2 separate regions of the Homo sapiens genome follow, and region 2 is linked to region 1. Evidence: promoter capture Hi-C in 16 types of primary human blood cells and fetal thymus (Javierre and others, 2016). All regions are on one chromosome and are shown on one strand. The core of a region is centred on a gene start or on the middle of the fragment in contact, and the rest is flanking DNA. Distances in the headings are between cores, read along the strand shown. Region 1 holds the start of NIT2 (nitrilase family member 2). Region 2 overlaps TMEM45A (transmembrane protein 45A).

What was found. Contacts are between HindIII fragments. The CHiCAGO score rates a contact against its expected background, and 5 or more counts as called.
Region 2: a contact is called between a fragment that was not itself captured here and the fragment with the promoter of NIT2 in region 1, in 1 of 17 cell types (naive CD4 T cells). The highest score is 5.1, in naive CD4 T cells.

What each region holds. Positions count from the first base shown.
Region 1 is chr3:100,328,522-100,336,006 of GRCh38, reverse strand. It overlaps NIT2 (nitrilase family member 2), which reads right to left and starts at 1,250. Exons shown (of 10, transcript NM_020202.5): 1 at 1,209-1,250. The coding sequence starts at 1,215. RefSeq lists silencers at 228-522, 921-1,250 and enhancers at 491-570, 691-750, 771-820, 914-1,482. The HindIII fragment of the contact is 2,232 bases long and covers 390-2,621 here.
Region 2 is chr3:100,573,185-100,580,669 of GRCh38, reverse strand. TMEM45A (transmembrane protein 45A) reads right to left here. Exons shown (of 6, transcript NM_018004.3): 6 at 3,226-3,745. The coding sequence ends at 3,652. Among named protein-coding and RNA genes, the nearest start is that of ADGRG7, 33 kb to the left of the region's middle. The HindIII fragment of the contact is 4,084 bases long and covers 1,360-5,443 here.

The sequences.
Region 1 (7,485 bases), core at 1-2,500:
GGCAAACAGATATTTTGAGCTGTTATCAGAACAGCAGATAAATCCACTAAACGTCTCCCCTCCATTTCCCAGCGTTAAGCCATTCTCCCTCCTCAGCTTCCCAAGTAGTTTGGGACTAAAGGGGCGTGCCACCACACCGGGCTAATTTTGTATTTTTTAGTACAGACAAGGTGTCGCCATGTTGCCCAGGCTGGTCTCCAACTCTTGACTCGTGAACTCAAGCGATCCTCGTGCCTCAGCTTCCCAAACTGTTGGGATTACAGGCGTGAGCCACGTGCCGGGCCATGTCTGTGCTTCCGAGGGTGGGAAAGATAAAGCTCACCATGGCTACGCTGATGGCTTCCTCTCCTACACATCTCACCCACAAGGGCGGGGTCCTCAACTAAGCTTAGGACTGCCTATCATTCTGCAAATGACCCACTCTACAGACATGCTGCAGCAGGGAAACCCCGCCACTGGGCAGTTCCTCATGCTGAGGAGGAGACGCCCGTCACTCCATCTCATCTGTAAAGTGAAGACTTTTAAGGCTGCCCTAATATTCATCATAATCTAACAACGAAGACCTTACCAAGGGGCGGAAAAAAAGAATAAAATACTGTGAGCGAAGGAAACAACAAAGGAATAACATTTAAAGCAATGTGCCAGGTCCTTCACACATTAACATCATTGTGTGAGGTATCATTAACATCATTTTACAAATAAAGAAACAGGGGACTTGCAGGGGGAAAGCTGCACAAAGTCACTGAACAAAGTAAGTGACACAGCAAGAATCCAAGTCAAAATCTGGAGCTGGAAAGTGAGTGGGGAGACGAAGAACCGCCTGGGCACCTTTGTGCAGGGCGGGGCTGGAGGAGGTCACGCAACTTGAAAACACCCAAGGGAGTTGGATCCTACCACCGCGGCCCACACCGTGGAGAAATACACGTCCATCAGCCTCTGTCAAGCAGGACGCGGCGGGTGCCGGCGCGGCCGGGTGGCCTGGTGCTTTCTGGGCCTCGCCCGCCACCCCGGAAGCCTGGAATCCCGGGAGTGCGCCCGGCCGCCCGGCCACGCGATCCCGGACCCACGCGGACGCCCGCCTCAGGGAAGGCCGCGCACGGCGGGGACGCGGGGCGGAGGGGCTGAGCCGGCCGAGCCACCGCCGGCGCCGCTCCAAAGCCTCCCCCGCGGCCCGAACTCGAGCTGCAGCGCGCGGCCGCGCCACTTACAGGTCATGACTCTGCAGACAAGCACCACCTGCGGCGCGGACTGAGCGCTGGAGATCCGGCGGACCGCGGCGTCGCTACGGTGGGGCGGGGACCGCGTCAGAGGCCCCGCCCCACCCCTCCTCCTGGCCCCGGCCGGGAGGAGAGAAGGGTCTGCGTTCATTCCAGTGCGCCTGTAACACCAGGACGGACCAACGAGAAATGGTTAATTGCAACACAGTCCGGAAAAAGCATGCCTCGAAAGGCAAAGGGCAAAAGGGAACGGCCTAAGTCGAGGTGGTGTGCTGGTGAATGTCTTAACAACCAGACTTTTCAGGGAGGAAAGCCCTGATTTGTAGCGTTTGCTGATTCTCCGCAAAAGGACTGAACTTCTAGCTGGTTGAATCACCTCTGTGGCCAGGTTAACACCGTATGCTGATGGGCTTGAGCTATTTGAACAAGTCTCTGTGACGGGGACGGAATGACCCTGGTTGGTTTAGGCACGCGAGACGTCTGTAAAATCTGACTACAAGGCTGCTAGGCCAACGGGAAAGATGCTGAGGGTTCAACGCCATGCCCTCAACAAGTCAGTCCTCGAATACATTGTCATCTCTTTGCTAATATCCTTTTTTGTTTGTTTGTTTTAGACAGGGTCTCACTCTGTCATCCAGTCAGGAGTGCAGTGCAGCAGTCTCAGCCCATTGCAGCCTCAACCTCCCGGCTCAAGCGATCCTCCGTCCTCAGCCTCCCAAGTAGCTGGGACTACAGGCACACACCACCACACCTAGCTATTTCTTTTCCTTTTTTCTTTTTCTTTCTTTCTTTCTTTTTTTTTTTTTTTTAAGTTTTTTACTTTTAATAGAGGTGGGGCCTTGCTATTTTGCCCAGGCTGGTCTCAAACTCCTGAGCTCAAGACCCTACTGCCTTAGCCTCCCAAAGTGCTGGAATTATAGGCGTGAGCTGCTGCGCCCAGCCTATAGACTATGATTTTTGCATTTTTATTTATTAGATTGCTTTTTAATTTTCGTGTTTTGTGTTTTTGTGCCTTGTCAGACTTGTGGAACAAAAATCCAAAACTTAACCACCTTTTGGAATGCCCCAGAATAGTTTATACTGAAACAGATCTTGGTTTGTAAAAGAACACTATAAAAACATTTTGGGGGCAACTAGGGAGATTTAAATATGAACGAGATATTTGATGCTTTTCTGAATTATTTTGTGTGCTATAGTGTTGTGCTTGTGACAATTCTTTACTCTTAGAAAATGAGGAAGTATTAGGGATGAACCATCAGAATGTTTGACTTGAAAATCGTCAGCAAAAAGAAAACACATAAGATAAAGCAAATATGGCAAAATGTTAATTATTAAATCTAGGAGGAGGACACAGCTGTTCATGGTACTAGATTAAAACTTTGTAGAAGTTTAAAATTTTAAGCTTTCATAAAAAAAAATTGGGGGGAAATACATAGCAGTTATGGTCTTTCTGCAGCTTAAGAGACTATCTGGACTTGGCTTTGTAGCAGGAAGATCTTTAAAAACCTTTTCATTTCTGCTATGCTTATTAACCTATGAGGTTTCAGGGTCAACCTGTGGTCACTTACAACCTGTTAAAAAAATTCATCTAGATTTCCAAATTTATTGGACTAACATTGTAACTAATAGTGGTCCTAAACCTGGCTGGAAATGTTATTTGAAGTGCTTGTTCAAAATGCAAATTATTTCATTTTTTTAGAAGTGGATTCTTACAGTGTTGCCCAGGCTGGTCTCAAACTCCTAGGCTCAAGTGATCCTCCCACTTTGGCTTCAAAAAGTGCTGGCCTTATAGGCATGAGCCATGGCATCCAGGTGGAGATGCCCAGTAGGCAACCGGACCAAAGCCTCAAGCTCAGAAGATGTCTGGGCTGGAAATTGACTTGGGAGTCACCAGCAGTTTTAACTAAGAGGAAGCTCTGAATTTGGATGAGAACACACAAGCGGAGTATGAAAGGCACACGCAAAAGAAGAAGGGCCTGTGGAGCCTGGGAAGGAGCCATTAGAGGAGAAGGACCAGGCCGGGCGCCACTGCCTGGTGGAGGAACAGCTGTGTCCTCCTCCTAGATTTAATAATTAACATAATCCCAGCACTTCAGGAGGTGGAGGCAGGTGGATCAAGAGGTCAGGAGCTCGAGACCAGCCTGACCAGCATGGTGAAACCCCGTCTCTACTAAAAATGCAAAAATTAGCTGGGCGTGGTGGCACACACCTGTAATCCCAGCTACTCAGGAGGCTGAGACAGCAGAATCACTTGAACCTGGGAGGCGAATGTTGCGGTGAGCCGAGATTGTGCCACTGCACACCAGCCTGGGTGACAGAGCCAGACTCCATTAAAAAAAAAAAGAGAGAGAGAGAAGCAGGACCAGGAGAAGGCCATCAAGACCAAAAGCCTATGGGTACTGTGTCCCTCTGTCACATGCAGGGAAACTGCTGACTTGGGCACTAGGGGTGTTCCTAGAAAAGGAAAAGCTAAATGAAAGTGCGCTTTTTAAACCTTTCTTTAGAACTTTCTGGGCACAATGGAAAAGCTAGTCACTGGGTTCTGGTTCTGGCTCTGACACTGATTAGATGTTAATACCTAGGGCAAATCACCTCACCCTCAGGACCTTTTCCTCACCTGTATGTGAAAGGATTTAGAGGCAAAGGAAGAAGAATCTGGCTGAAGGGTGAAGTTTGTGCAGCCCTCCCCACCACCACTCCCCTCACTGTCCCTTCTCTGCAGCAGCTCTGCCTTCGTTTCCATGTTCCTGTTCATCTGACGTATGAAAATAGGCCAAAAAACAAAACTACCAGGCCAAATGGATCTTGAAAGCCCAGCTAAAAATCTGGTGTGCCTTTTCAGTCTCTATTCTCATTTCTACCCATGTCTCACAGGCTTAATGACCATTTCCAGGCTGTTACTAGTCAGATTTTTATTTTTACTCCAGAGGACCTATTTCAACATCTCCGGCTGCCGCCATCTCTATTTACATGTCTCAACATCAGTTCCAACTCAACTATGTGAAACTAAATGTATCACCTCCAAAAGAGCTTCTCCACCCAGCACTTACAGGCACCACAATTTATGCCCAGTTTTCTAATTCTCCCTGCTTTCCAGCCCTCCAAGAAAACCTAAGTCACTTCAGTGACTTTCGAGTCTTTCATTCCCCACCTCTGGTAAGGGACAGGGCTCTTCTTACTCTCAGGAAATGTCCCTGATTCCTCCTTTCAGTTCCCACCACCACCGTCCACAGGTAGGCCTTCCTCACCTTGGGGAGACTGCTACAGGCACTTCCTAACTGGTCTCTCCTTTCCATCAGCATTCCTCCAGCTGCCGCTTCATAGTATGAGGTGAGTCTAGGGGAACGTGAGCTCAGTTTTTGGGGGAGAGGTGGATATGTGTTCCAGGAAAACTCTCCGTGTTTTTCCTCTGCTCTTACATCACCACCACAACAATCATCATCACAGAAGAATTCTGGGACCAAATGTGAGGGGGTTCCTCCCTACCACCAAGCAGCGGACACCAGCTGGGTATCCTCCTATTCAATTCCAACACTGTCTACCTGAGGAAGACACACCGGCACCAGTCATATGTCTTGGACTCCAGAACTTCTGACCAACCACTTTCAAGTTGGGGTTGCCATGATCCCATCTTTGGGTTTGAATAACTTGCTGGAGCAGCTCACAGAACTCATGGAAACATGTTTCCTGGTTTATTATAAAGGATGTTGCAAAGGCTACAAGGAAGAGATGTGTAGGGCAAAGTATGGGAGGAGGGGCACAAAGCTTCCATGCCCTCCAGAACCTCCACGAACGTGGTCAGCTATCTAGAAGCTCTCCAAACCCAGTTCTATTGGCCTTTATGGGAACTTTATGTTATCAGCATTCCTTCCTCCAAGGGATGGGGCAGGAGCTCTCAGGAGGTATTTAAGACCCACAATCAGCAAGATTAGAGTTCTGCCTTGGGGCAGGTGAAAGGAGAGCAGGAGAGGCCAGAGAGATTCTGTTTCCTGAGGCCTGCCCCTGAGGCCTAACACAACTGGCATTATAACAAAAGACTTAACAAGGCTATGGGAGTCAGGGACCGTGCTTGAAAATGTGTGTATGTATGTGTGTGTATACCTCGTAACACCACAATACGCAAGTGACTTACAGCAGTCAGAAATTAGGGGCTGAAAATCAGAATTGCAGTCATTTGCAAAGAATAAGAGAAGAAATCTATGAGTAGATGCAATCGGAGAAGGAAAGAGTATACTACAGAAAGCAAAGGATCAAACTTGGGAATTATCATATTGGGTTAGAACTGTGTACAGGGAGGAGTCAAAGAGTGTGTATGCATCTAAATATACACATAAATGCATAGATACACAGAATTTTTAAATTTCTGATGCAGTTCTCTGCAAATCAGGAGACCTGAGTTCAAAACTTTGCTGACACACCATGTAACTTTGGACAAGTTACTTAACGTTGGGAGACCAATTTAATATACCCACGTGGGTTAGACAGGTAACTGAGTAAAGCTGGCAACCTGAAGAGAAAAGCAAACACTGAGAAGGCCACTAGCTCTCGCCTGCTGTTTCCAGGACAGCAAACAGCAAAGAGGTGGCACAGTATAGCAGTTATAACCATGAACTCTTTTGTGTGGATGTTAAGTTTTCATTTCCCTAGGGTAAATACCTAGGAGAGGGATTGCCGGGTTGTATAGTAAACATATGTTTATTTACAAGAAATGGCCAAACTGTTGTCTAGAGTGTCTGTACCATTTTGTACACCCACCAGCAATGTATGAATGTTCTAGTTATTCCATATCCTCACCAGCACTTGGTATTGTCATTTTTTGTTTTTAATTTTAGCCATTCTAACTGGTGTGGTTTTGATTTACATTTCCCCAACAGCTAATGATGATCTTTTCACATGCCTATTTGCCACCCATCTTTCTCTGAAGAATTGCTTCTTTTCCCCATTGTTTTGTTTTCTTATTGTTGTAGTGAAAATCTTTATATATTCTGAACACAAATCCTTTGTTGGTATGTTTTGCAAGTACAGTATTTTTCCCCAGTATGTAGCTTGTCTTTCCCTTCTATTAAGTGTCTTTTGCAGAGCAAAATTTTTAAATTTAAGATTTTTTTTTTTTTTTTTTTGAGATGGAGTCTCTCTCTGTCACCCAGGCCGGAGTGCAGTGGTGATCTCGGCTCACTGCAACCTCTGCCTCCCAGAGTCAAGTGATTCTCTTATCTCAGCCTCCCAAGTAGCTGGGATTACAGGCGCACGCCACCAAGCCCGACTAATTTTTGTATTTTTAGTAGAGAGGGGGTTTCACCTTGCAGGCCAGGCTGGTCTCAAACTCCTGACCTCGTGATCTGCCCGTCTCGGCCTCCCAAAGTGCTGGGATAATAGACATGATTCATTCTTATGGATTGTGCTTTTCATATGTCTAAGAACTATGGCCTAACCCAAGATCATGAAAATTTTCTCCTGTTTTCTATTAGTTTTATAGGTTTACATTGCACATTTAGCTGTATGATGCATTGAGTTAATTTTTGTATAAGGTTTGAGGTATATAGGTTGAGATTAATTTCTTTGTATATGGGTATCTAGTTGTTCCAACAGTGTATGTTGAAAAGACTATCCTTTCTCTATTGAATTGCCTTTGAAACTTTGCTCAAAACAACTGCCCATTATTTGTGGGGGTCTATTTTTTTCATTTTATTTATTTATTTTAGTTGTTTTATTTCCATAGGTTATTGGGGAACAGGTAGTGTTTGGTAACCTGAGTAAGTTCTTTAGTGGTGATTTGTGAAATTTGGGTACACCCATCACCCGAGCAGTATATACTGCACCCAATTTGTAGTATTTTATCCTTCACCCCCTTCCCACTCTTTCCCCGAGTCCCCACAGTCCATTGTCTCATTCTTATGCCTTTGCATCCTCATAGCTTAGCTCCTACTTATGAGTGAGAACATACGATGTTTGGTTTTCCATTCCTGAGTTACTTTACTTAGAAAAATAGTCTCCAATATTATCCAGGTCGCTGCGAATGCCATTCATTCATTCCTTTTTATGGCTGAATATCATATATATATATATATCTCACAGTTTCTTTATCCACTCATTGATTGATGGGCATTTGGGTTGGTTCCACATTTTTGCAATTGCAAATTGTGCTGCTGTAAACATGTGTGTGCAAGTTATCTTTTTCTTACAATGACTTTTTTTTTTTTGAGATGGAATCTTGCACTGTCACCCAGACTGGAGTGCAATGGCACAATCTCACCTCACTGCAATCTCC
Region 2 (7,485 bases), core at 2,152-4,651, 240 kb before region 1:
GGTGTATTAACTTTTCTTTCATACTTTTAATCTATCATTTGCTTGTATTTTGGGAGAATTTCCCAGTTCTCAGCTTTTATTTTTATTGTTCCCATAGCATCCATTGACTCTTGCTGCACCTTATCAATCCACAACCAAGATACAATTAATCAACCTTGATTAATGAGATTCTCTAGAAACGAAACGATGAGGAGTGTACCATAACCAAGCCTCCCATTTCAACAATGAGCTGGAAGTTAGTGCAATCAGAGGTTGCAGATTCCCAAGCAAAGGAGATTGGAGAATTACAGAAATCACTAAGGAGTTGGTATCACATCAACAGCCAAAGTTGATATTGCTTAATAATCTGTCCCCACCCTTCACTTTCCTATTATACAGCCACAGAGGCTTTCCATCCACAGGGTTCTGTCTGCTTTATAAAATGTCCTTGAGTCTTTCCTACATTAACACCTGCACTAGAAATCAAACATTGATTTATGTAAAGGTTTTCTCCACTTTGGTTATGACAAATGAAGCATAGGATACTCAAAGTTTGGCAAAAGCTCAGGAATTGAGATCCTAGGTTTTTGGAAGAATGGAGACAAAATACAAATATAAAGTAAGGGAGTAAACCTCCATCCCCATCCCTTCTTTGATAAGGTTTTCCTTTCAGAGCTAAAGGCTCTGGAAATATATAAACACTATAATGCCTGATAATGATAGAGAGGGATGGGCAGAAGTTCAGGGGCTATTTTCCCTCGGGTGGTTAGTGGAGCACCTCTAGGAAAGGACCACTCTCAGGAAGGTGGTGCTTTCCCCCACCTGTCTTAGCCTGTTGCGTTGCAATAAAGGAATACATGCGGCTGGGTAATTTATAATAAAAGAGGTTTATTTGGCTCACTGTTCAGCAGGCTGTATAAGAAGCATGGCACCAGCATCAGCTTCTGGTGAGGGGCTCAAGCTGCTTCCACTCACAGCGGAAGGGGAAGGGGGGCTGGCGTGTGCAGAGATCACATGGTGAGAAAGGAAGCAAGAGAGGGAAGGGAGGTGCCTGGCCCTTTTCAACACCAGCTTTCAGGAAAACTCTCTGGGGAACTGATAGAGTGCAAACTAATGAGGATGGCACCATGCCGTTCATGAGGGATCCACCCTTATGACCTAAACCCCTCCCACTAGGCCCCACCTCAAACATTGATGACCAAATTTCAACATGAGACTTGAAGGGGACAAACAAATCGTATGTAAACCATAGCAGCACCCCACCATTCTTTATACTCCTTCCCAGCTTTATTTTTCTTCATATAACTTATTATTGCCTCAAACTGTAGAACTTATTTGTTGACTTTGTTATTGACTGTATGTTCCATGGGAATGTAAGCTTGATGAAGACTGGGACTTTGGCTTAAGTACTGCTGTAGAATACCACTGTATTCCTAGTTTATTGAACACTGCTTGGCACATGGTAACTGCTTAATAAACATTCATTGGATGATTGATTCCATTGGTACACACGGGTTAAGTATAGCCTGAAACTAATTTTTCTCATCCCATGATCTAGAGTTGAAAACTTTTTATATTTTTATTATAAAATATTTTTCATGGTTTCAGAACATTTACTGAAACATACTTTTTTATAAATCAAAACCTTTAAAAATTGTACTTATTGATCTAAGATTTCCTAGCACAAGAAAATATGACTGTCTCATTTTTGGCTCAAGTTCACAGTTTGTTAATTTTTCACATCATTCCATAAAAATGTTAGTCACAAATTACAAACCCAATAATGTAACCATAAAGTTGTCATGATAGTGTTCCAATGTATTGCTCATTTCAGGAACTAGAGGCAGATAGCCCTAGAGTTTAGACTTAGACCTGAACCAAATATTCCTCCTTTGAGAACTTGCTGAGTTGATTTTACTTGTAATCTGTGTGCAGACTAGAGGAGTGGAAATTTCTGCTCTCTCACAAAGACTGTAGACTATTTGCACTTATCAGTTTTCAAAATTCCAGGCTTAATCTGGTTCATGCTAATTATTCCCAGTGTTTCTGCTCAGGCCTATATACCAGTGATGCCAGCTTCATGTAACTGCTGCTGATCGCTCACTCACTCACTCCTTTGAAACCCAAACTTGTCAAAATCATAGAATTTTGTGGGTCTAGCAAACAGCCCCGAGAGATAAGACATATATGGGACAGAATGCCATGACCCCCAAGGACTGTGGCATGTGGGCATTTTCATATGCCAGAAACGTCCTAAGGTTCATGGCATTATTCAAGATAAACCTTTAGGCACTCACACCTGCTCTTTTCAAACTTATGTGACAAAATGAATGTGTCCAGTTCTGGGGCCTGAAGAATCTACTCACCTGACTCTTCAATGTCACTGTGACACATATGAGACTAGGCAGCCTTCTAGACTTGCCAGTGCTTCTGGAAAGCTAGGGAGCCTTCAGGACTTAGTTGACCACATTTCAGCTCTAGCTGTGCACAGGGCTGCCTCCTTTCCTCCAGGTTTGGGTCATCCCTCAAGGATTCGTGCAATCCTCCTTCCTTTTCTCTCATAGAAAATACTGGTCTTTGTGACTAACATTGTACTAAATTATTAGGTTGACATTGAAGAAAAGACATTGCTTTGCAATGGCAATAACCACAACTACTTTTGCACCAACCTAATAGCTTTCCATATGCTTCCATTTCTAGATTCTTAAAATGTGACAACCAGAAGAGCCCCATGGTTCATTCAATTCAATTCCTTACTTTAGAGAGAAGGACATGGTGATTGCCAGAGACCTAAAGCTGGTTAATGGTAGAGCCAGAATCAGAAACAAGATTTCTTGACTCTCCACTGGGGGGCTACTTAGGGCACAGACTAGGTAAGAGTTCTGACTTTTTACCCAAGCATTCCATAAAAGGCTTTTCCTGGTTTTAACCTTTCACTTACTGTAACAGAGGGGATGCTGTGGTGGCCATGCTATGGTGTGTGATGACTTTTTACTCTTATGGACAACACCCCAGTTCTCCTTTCCCAGTCTCTCGTGGCTTTGCAACCATGTGTCCTAAGGATCATCCCTTTTATCTTCTCTGAAAGATCACACACCCTAGGAAGACTTCTGGCCTACTATTCCCTGTGGAGAACTCAGGTACTATAGAGATGTCTCACAAAAAAGAATTTCTGTGTCCTGCAGCTTCTTCTGCATGATAAAAAGGAGGAGTGTAGCTAAATAACAAAAACAAAGATTTCAGGTGTCTGCACCAAAATACATACATTCATTTATTTCTCATTGCAGCAACAAGATAAACAAGTATAATTCCATGGTCAAGGAGTTACAAATAGTAGCAAGCCCAGTAACCTTGAGCATATCTATAAGGCAAATAAAACAAATATTTCTTTCATAGTGTGGGCATCCAACTTTAGATAATCTGGAAAAAAATCACTCTAGCCCCTGAATACCATGATGTGCATGATGTGCAAAATGAAAGTATCACCCAAAATATTTTCAAAGCTAAAAAGAAAATATTTAAATTCAAATACTTTAACCAAATTGGAAATGCAAACAGTACACTTAGAGTCATCCTTAGCCAGCTGTTCTCCAAACAAAAGATCGAGAAACAAAACCAAGAACAATGTAAAAAAGAAAAGGTTTATCTAGAAAAACTGGAAGCTCATCAAAGTCACATTTCTTCTTCTGATTCTTGTTCTCGTTCAGCATTTTTCAGAAGTCCAACTTCTGAGGAGCAGAGCCTCTTAAGTCTAGATTTAACCAACCTGAGGAGAAAGAAAAGCATCTCAAGTTAGACGGTTTTTAAAATAGAAACCCAGAGCAATATGCACCCATTATACCACAAAGTCTAGATTATTTGGGCAACTGGGGAAGGCAACCCAAAAAGGAAAATTACTTTTATTTGGCTTTGGAGCTGCCTGAAAATTTTTGTGGATTAAAGCAGGGTATAAGTAAACAGATACAACGTGGTTTTCCAATGTATTGCATCATTGTTTAATTAGGCCTCAGAAGATAACTTTGCTCATTTCTTTTTCTTTTTCTTTTTCTTTTCTTTTCTATTTTTTTTTATGAGACAGAGTCTTGCTCTGTCACCCAGGCTGGAGTGCAGTGGCGCAATCTTGGCTCACTGCAACCTCCACCTCCCAGGTTCAAGCAATCCTCCTGCCTCAGCCTCCTGAGTAGCTGGAATTAGAGGCATGTATCATCACACCCAGCTAATTATTATTTTTTTTTAAACGGAGTTTTGCTGTGTCATCCAGGCTGGAGGCTGGAGTGCAGTGGCACAATCTCAGCTCACTGCAACCTCTGCTTCCCGGGTTCAAGCAATTCTCTGCCTCAGCCTCCTGAGTAGCTGGAATTACAGACGCCCACCACCACGCCCAGCTAATTTTTTTGTATTTTTAATAGAGATGGGGTTTCACCATCTTGGCCAGGCTGATCTTGAACTCCTGACCTCGTGATCCACCTGCCTCGGCCTCCCAAAGTGCTGGGATTACAGGCGTGAGCCACTGTGCCCAGCCAATTTTTTTTATATTTTTAGTAGACAAGGGGTTTCTCCATGTTGGTCAGGATGGTCTCGAACTCCTGAACTCAAGTGATCTGACCGCCTCAGCCTCCCAAAGTGCTCCGATTATAGGCATGAGCCACCGTGCCCAGCCAACTTTGATCATTTCTAAAACAATTAAGAGAATCGCTGGGCTGTGGCAAGCCCAGATGAAACCAAGCTCAGTTGAGTTTCTCCATAAAAGCCACATCTAACTGTGTATTGCAAACAGGTGCTATATCATATAAAGGAAGTGCATGAAGCCCGCCTCTAGGGTTGGCAGCCCAAGTCAAGGCCCACGTCAAGTCTGGGCTAAATTCAGCCCCTACTTCCTGCTACTAGCCCCTTCCAGGGGGAGCTTTTGTGCAGGGAACAAGCTGTTCAACTGCATGTGATGCCTCTGCCATGATGAATTAAGAAGCTCAAAGAAGTACCCTCCATCCTGGTGACTGTTTTCATAGTTTAAGAGAATCTGGGCTGGGCATGGTGGCTCATGCCTATAATCCCAGCACTGTGGGAGGCAAGGCGGGCAGATCGCCTGTGGTCAAGAGTTCAAGACCAGACTGGCCAACATGGCAAAACTCCGTCTCTACTAAAAATACAAAATTAGCTGGCCATGGTGGCACATGCCTGTAATCCCAGCTACTCAGGAGGCTGAGGCAAGAGAATCTCCTGAGTCCAGGCGGTGGAGGTTGCAGTGAGCTGAGATCACGCCACTGCACTCCAGCCTGGGCGACAGAGCAAGTCTCCATCTCAAAAAAAAAAAAAAAAAAAAAAAAAAAGAGAATCCATAGGCCTGGGGGAAGCACGGATTATAATTTTTGACACTAGAAGATGTGACACTGATTAGCAGCTGAAGCTCAGCAGGCTCTCCACTTCTCTGATGTGAGAAAGAGTGTCATAAGAACTAGGCAAAGCTTTTCCTGTGCATCATTATTATAAAGGCATTGTGCTGTGACCATATCAACAAAGCATAGTTAACTCCCAGAAATACATAGGAATATGCAAACAAATTTGATAAGCCAAATCACCAATATCACTCTTCACAAATGAAAAATTTCACCAGTCTACCTGCATCTTTACCCTTATTTTCTGCTATATTTTTTCTGATGAAAGTCTGGCCTGCCTGTATCAATATGTAATGGCTTTACTTGTGCTCTGAGAGGGGTTTTTGAAATACTTCTGTGGAACTAACTTAAGCTATTGCTTAAGTTTATATCAAAATATATCAGAAAATTTAACCCTTGGTCTTATCTTTTCAAGAACAATATGACAGTAAAATTGAAAAGTATATAAAACATGATTTCAAAACAAATGAAGCCTATATTTAAAGAGCTCTGCAACATAAATCTATTATCTATTAAAACAGCAAACAAGGGTTTATTGAGAATCTACTATATGTTTGGCAGTGTGCCAAGAGGTGTGGGAAATATGGAAAGGGTCTCATACTCAAGGAGACACAATCTAGCCAGTAGATAACACTAACCCACATGACCTAATAGTGAACATCACAGGAGAGATCCCAATTGTTAAAATGCATGGTGAAGACGACGGGCTGTAAAAATTCTTGGAGGGACCTCTGGTAGAATTCGGCTGTGAATCCATCTGGTCCTGGACTTTTTTTGGTTGGTAAGCTATTGATTATTGCCTCAATTTCAGAGCCTGTTATTGGTCTATTCAGAGATTCAACTTCTTCCTGGTTTAGTCTTGGGAGGATGTATGTGTCGAGGAATTTATCCATTTCTTCAGGATTTTCTAGTTTATTTGCATACAGGTGTTTATAGTACTCTCTGATGGTAGTTTGTATTTCTGTGGGATCGGTGGTGACATCCCCTTTATCATTTTTTATTGCGTCTATTTGATTCTTCTCTCTTTTCTTCTTTATTAGTCTTGCTAGCAGTCTATCAATTTTGTTGATGTTTTCAAAAAACCAGCTCCTGGATTCATTAATTTTTTGAAAGGTTTTTTGTACCATTCCTTCTGAAACTATTCCAATCAATAGAAAAAGAGGGAATCCTCCCTAACTCATTTCATGAGGCCAGCATCATCCTGATACCAAAGGCTGGCAGAGACATAACCAAAAAAGAAAATTTTAGACCAATATCCTTGATGAACATGGATGCAAAAATCCTCAATAAAATACTGGCAAACCGAATCCAGCAGCACATCAAAAAGCTTATCCACCATGATCAAGTGGGCTTCATCCCTGGGATGCAAGGCTGGTTCAACATACACAAATCAATAAATGTAATCCAGCATATAACAGAACCAACGACAAAAACCACATGATTATCTCAATAGATGCAGAAAAGGCCTTTGACAAAATTCAACAACCCTTCATGCTAAAAACTCTCAATAAATTAGGTATTGATGGGACGTATCTCAAAATAATAAAAGCTATCTATGAAACCCATAGCCAATATCATACTGAATGGGCAAAAACTGGAAGCATTCCCTTTGAAAACTGGCACAAGACAGGGATGCCCTCTCTCACCACTCCTATTCAACATAGTGTTGGAAGTTCTGGCCAGGGCAATCAGGCAGGAGAAGGAAATAAAGGGTATTCAATTAGGAAAACAGGAGGTCAAATTGTCCCTGTTTGCAGATGACGTGATTGTATATCTAGAAAACCCCATCAGCTCAGCCCAAAAGCTCCTTAAGCTGATAAGCAACTTCAGCAAAGTCTCAGGATACAAAATCAATGTACAAAAATCGCAAGCATTCTTATACACCAATAACAGACAAACAGAGAGCCAAATCATGAATTAACTCCCATTCACAATTGCTTCAAAGAGAATAAAATACCTAGGAATCCAACTTACAAGGGATGTGAAGGACCTCTTCAAGGAGAACTACAAACCACTGCTCAAGGAAATAAAAGAGGATACAAACAAATGGAAGAACATTCCATGCTCATGGGTAGGAAGAATCAATATCGTGAAAATGGCCATACTGCCCAAG